2 separate regions of the Homo sapiens genome follow, and region 1 is linked to region 2. The links are contacts of gene promoters, found by promoter capture Hi-C in human tissues and cell types (Jung and others, 2019). All regions are on one chromosome and are shown on one strand. Each heading gives the region's core, a stretch centred on a gene start or on the middle of the fragment in contact. The rest is flanking DNA. Distances are from core to core; before and after follow the strand shown.

Region 1 (2,700 bases), core at 201-2,700, 350 kb before region 2:
TTTTTAGTAGAGACAGGGTTTCACCGTGTTAGCCACGATGGTCTCGATCTCCTGGCCTTGTGATCCACCCACCTTGGCCTCCCAAAGTGCTGGGATTATAGGCATGAGCCACCGCGCCCGGCTTGAAATAAATCTTTAAAGAAAAAGATAAAGCATTTAAAAAGACAAGTCAAAGTACTTCAGGAACCACATATCCAACACAAGCTTTTTCCTCAAATGAGTTATGTTTGCCTCGCAGTAATAAACTTTTATTTCACTCAAATTACAGCAATAATCTTCCATACATAAGTATCTTTGCTGCCCAATAATTCAAAGGAAAAAAAATCCAAAATGATTAGTAAAGAAAATTGTGAGAATTAACAGACCCTTTAAATTTGTTTTAAATATTTTTGAGGTTTAAAAAGTGCTTAAAGTTTGCCCTAGTAGGAAAACATTATCTGAATGAATACCCTAATGGCAAACCACTGTAAAATGCTTCTGCTACATTTGGGGGACAGGGGTAGGGATTATCTTCAAAGCACCCCAGCTCTCTTGATGAGAAGGTCAGAGGTACACTGGTTTGTATCATTGCAACATCCATAAGGTGATGTAGGTTGCTTTTCCTTCAGAAAAGGCTTTATCAGAAAGGCATTAATCTTGACCTCCAAATTTGGCTGACAATTTACTGATAAGATTCATAACCTTTGTGTTGCTCTGGTATTTTGACATATTTGCTGGGTTCTGAGCCACATCCTGGAAGGCCACCATAACTTCTGGATCCTGCATGGCTGCAAGAACCTCTGGATCACTAAGAATTTCATTGAGTCCAGGCATTCCGGCCGTTCCAGGCATGCCCCCTCCCATTCCAGGCATTCCTCAGGGAAAATTACCAGGCATTCCCCCAGGAAAGCCACCTGGAAAAGAGCCATACTGAGCTCCTGACTGTTGTCTGGCTTCTTTCTCCCTCTGGGCTCTCTCATGTTCTTCTCAAGCCTTCTTAACTTTTCTATGCTTTCTTTGATCTCTTGCTCTTCACGTTTTCGCTCATACTTTCTCTGATGTTCTGCAATTTTCTGTGCCCTAGGTTGAACTTCTTTCAGCATTACACTAGCATCTTCATCATAATCCAATTTACAGGCAAGGGCAAGATCATGGGCTGCTTCTTCCCAGTGGCCTAGAAGTCTGTGTGCTTTCTCTCATCACTTGTAAGGCTGAGCTGAATCAGGATTTATTTCAATGGCTCTGTCACAGTCTCGGATGGCAGCATTTGGCTTCTGTAATTTGATGAAGACACTGGCCCTCTTAGCATACAAAATAGCCAAGCAAGGATTCAGCTTGATGGCATCTGTGAATAAATCAATGGATTTCCGCAGTTCACCATCATTTAGGGCTTCAATAGCAGCCACTTTCTTATCATTTGCCTGATCCATCATCACCTCTGTTATCCCATTTCTTGAGGGACATCAGTGTCTGGTTCAATCACACCTTAATTATCAATTTCTAGCTCACTTTCCTTACTTGATGTTTTGTCTGCCTTTAAGTCTTCCTCTACCTTCCTACTATCAAGTTTTTCTTCTTTGGTATTTTCTTCTGATTTAGCTTTCTGAGTAGTAGGTGGTACTTTACCCCTGTGCTCTCCACCCACTCCCTCAGGAATCTCATTTCCTCGGTGTGCGGAATGCTCAGATCCTGCTTACAAATTTTCACAAAGGCCCAAAACTCGTTCACTTTGCAGGGGTCCATGGTCAGGAGGCAGTATGCGAAGCTGAGGGGCTGCAGCCCAGTTCCAGGCCCAGATGCTGGCTTGGTGTGACCACGCAGAAGGGCCAAACCAATGTATATCTAAATGTACTGACTGATGTCTACCTGTAATTTCTGATCTCCTAAAATAAATAAAATCAAGCTGCAACCCAACCACCTGGGGCACATGTTCTCAGGACCTCCTGAGGCTGTGTCATGGGTCATGGTCCTCACATTTGGCTCAGAATAAATCTCTTCAAATATTTTATGGAGTTTAGTTTTTTTGTTTTGTTTTGTTTTGTTTTTCCTTTGAGACAGAGTCTCGCTCTGTCAGCCAGGCTGAAGTGCAATGGCACTCTCGAGTAGCTGGGATTACAGGTGCGTACCACCATATCCAGCTAATTTTTGTATTTTTAGTAGAGACAGGGTTTCACCATATTGGCCAGGATGGTCTTGAACTCCTGACTTCATGTGATCCACCCACCTCAGCCTCCAAAAGTGCTGGGATTACAGGCATGAGCCACCAGGCCTGGCCTGAATTTGGCTTTTTTCATCAACAATATTATTCTTCATTTTAAGAAAAAGAGAAAATGGCAACATTGAAGAACCCAAAACAGTACATGAATTTCGCTTATCAAGATACAATTTTTTTTTTAAATCCTGCAGGTTTCCTCAACCAGGTTATATGGTCCAAAGGCAAGTCTCCTGGAAAACTAATAGAATGAAACAGAGGGCTTTTTCTGGACCACCACTAAAGAAAGGGTAGTATGGGCGGGCGCGGTGGCTCACGCCTGTAATCCCAGCACTTTGGGAGGCTGAGGCAGGCAGATCACGAGGTCAGGAGATCGAGACCATCCTGGCTGACACGGTGAAACCCTGTCTCTTCTAAAAATACAAAAAATTAGCCGGGCGTAGTGGCGGGCGCCTGTAGTCCCAGCTACTTGGGAGGCTGAGGCAGGAGAATGGCGTGAACCCGGGAGG
Region 2 (2,700 bases), core at 34-2,533:
TGGTGACTGCCGGCTGGGCAGGCAGTGCTGATGGAGTGAGGAAGGGAAGGGTCAAAAGGGCCAAGGTTGATTAGTGGGTGCTGAACTGCGCATATCTTGAATGGCAGATCCAGTGAGTGTGACTGTATTCTGTGAGCATGGGTAGGGACTACAGAGTGTTCACGCTGGAGGTTCTTTTTTTTAGGCAATTTTTTTAAAGTACGCATTTATTTTAGAGATGCATCTGGCTATGTTGACCAAGCTGGAGTGCAGTGGCTATTCACATCCCGGATCGCACACTACAGCCTGTAACTTCTGGGCTCACGCGATCCTCTGCCTCAGCCTCCCAAGCACTTGGGACTACAGGCTCACTGGCGCGCCCAGACTCATCGGAGGTTCTTAGAGCAGTAAGATGATGGGTGCTGAGATTTAGGATTTTTACAATAGACAAGGCAAGCTGATGGGTTGGTGGCTACGGGTTAATTCCCTAGTGACCTGCATCATTATCTTTTGGGAAAACTGCTGTTTGGGGTCTTCCTGGGGACAGCACAGGGCACTCTACCTTAGGGCTACTTCTTCGTGTACATTTTGCAAGGCTTCCCGGATGTGCTTGGGGACCGGCCTGGCTGTGGTGACACAGCCGTTGGTCTGGAGGTCTGCCGATCTCTTCAGCACCTGCCCGTAGTAGGTCTGACCCAGCGTCCCACAGTGGAGTGAGGGGTAGAGAGGGAGAAGAGCTGTGACTGCAGCGCGAGGGCTCCGTCACCACCTCCACCTCCACTTGGCCGACCTCAGTTCCCTGGAAAGGTCGAAGCCTAGACCCTGCCCTACCCCGACTCCAGGAGTCCCGGGGGACAGGGTGCGGGCCAGGCCAGACTTCCATTAGCCTAGGCTCCACTTGGGCCATTCCAGGCCCTACAGCTCTCACCTGCACGTCCTTCTGTATCTCAGCGTCACGAAGTGCAGCCACTGTCGGGAGCGGGAAAGTTAGTTGAAAGGAGAGGGTGCTGAGGGACGGGCATGAGGGAGGGGGCCAGTAAAGGGCAGGCAGCGGGCCGAGGGGTGAGGGGAGGACAAAGGTCTCGAGACACAGCTCGGGGGAGGCGCTCGCGTTCCCGCCTTGCGGGGGCCCAGGGAAGGGGCTGGGGGCTGGGGCGGGGCGCCCAGGGCGCGCACTCACTGTCTCCTCGGCCTGCGACTCAGGGCGCGCACTCACTGTCTCCTCGGCCTGCGACTCAGGGCGCGCACTCACTGTCTCCTCGGCCTGCGACTCAGGACGGCGGGCTCCCGCAGCCAGCTCCTGTGCCGAGGCCCCGCCCAGGCTGGCAGGCTTGCTCCGCCCGCCCATCCCGCTCTAGCCCCTCGCTCAGGCGCCCACCGCCTGACCCGCTGTTCCACTGTCATCCGCGCTGCTCTACAGGCTTTCCAACCAGGAGGTCGGTATCAGCATCCCCCTTGTTCGCTCCACTGCGATTTTCACGGATAAATCTCGTACTCTGATTTAAATGAACACTCACCTATATAATGATCTTCCCCCCTCCCCCTTTTTGGGAATAGAATCATCTTTTCTCGATCTGTTTTTTGAAGTCAAGTTTGTTGAGATATAATTCACATTCCGTGAAATCCATCTTTCTTCAGTGTGCAGTTCTGTGAACTCTGGCAAACGTATATACATCACCAAAACGGAGACCAAAATAGCTCTGGCCCACAAGTTTCTTCGTGCCTCTTTGTAGTAAATTCCCTCTTCCCACCCCTAGCTCCTGGGCAACCACAGATGTTTTCCCTCCCTATAGTTCTGCCTTTTCTAGAATGTCACATAGAGGGAACCATTAACAGTATGTAGCTGTTCCCAGTCTATTTTGGGTTGTATTTAGGAAAGCAACTTTGCTAAATTTATTTTCACCTATAGTAATTTTTGGTCAAGTCACATGTATTTTCCAGGTATTGTCACTTCATCTTGCAGAAAGTTTTTTTTTTAATTTTTAAATTTTTTTGAGACGGTCTCTGTTACCCAGGCCCAACCTCCTGGCTCAAGCGATCCTCCCGCCTCAGCCTCCCAAGTACCTTGGATTACAGGCGTGCACCACCACACCTGGTTAATTTTTGTATTTTTTTATAGAGACGGGATTTCACCATGTTGTCCAGGCTGGTCTCCAACTCCTGGGTTCAAGCAATCCGCCCGCCTCAGCCTCCCAAAGTGTTTGGATTACAGGCATGAGCCACAGTGCCAGGCCCAAAAGTATTTTTTGTTTTTTTAAATATGGAACACTTCACGAATTTGTATGTCATCTTGCGCAGGGGCCATGCAAATCTTCTCTATCATTCCAACTATATGTGCTGCCGAAGCGAGCACCCAAAAGTATTTTTAAATTATTTATTTTTACTTCCACAATTATATGTGTATATCTTGTTTCCCTTTGTGGTTGTAACAAGCATTTCTCTTTTTATAATTTAAATTAAAAAAAAATTTTTAGAGACAGGGTCTCAACTCTGTGGCCCAAGCTTAGCGTCACTGCGCAATCATCTCTGGATCCTTCAACTCTGGCCTCAAGCCATCCTCCCTCCTCAGCCTCCCCAGTAGCTGGGACTACAGGTGCAAGCCACCATGCCCAGCTTGTAACGATCATTTCTATTCATTAGGACAGTAAGGAAACAGGGAGATCCAAGTGAAAGGATATCTAAATGGATGAAGTAGACTCTTTCATTCATTTTTCAATCTCA

The links. The method cuts DNA at HindIII sites, captures the fragments that hold promoters and counts their contacts. A contact is called where the count stands out against the background at its distance.
Region 1: a fragment that was not itself captured here is called in contact with the fragment with the promoter of AS3MT in region 2 in 1 of the 25 tissues and cell types used here (mesenchymal stem cells).

Annotation. Positions count from the first base shown.
Region 1 is chr10:103,214,731-103,217,430 of GRCh38, reverse strand. It overlaps the pseudogene ST13P13. Among named protein-coding and RNA genes, the nearest start is that of NT5C2, 23 kb to the right of the region's middle. The HindIII fragment of the contact is 6,509 bases long and covers 1-2,700 here.
Region 2 is chr10:102,868,053-102,870,752 of GRCh38, reverse strand. It overlaps AS3MT (arsenite methyltransferase), which reads right to left and starts at 1,283. Exons shown (of 11, transcript NM_020682.4): 1 at 1,160-1,283; 2 at 908-948; 3 at 542-669. The coding sequence starts at 1,160. BORCS7-ASMT (BORCS7-ASMT readthrough (NMD candidate)) reads right to left here. Exons shown (of 15, transcript NR_037644.1): 6 at 908-948; 7 at 542-669. It also overlaps the pseudogene LOC124902567. The HindIII fragment of the contact is 5,936 bases long and covers 1-2,700 here.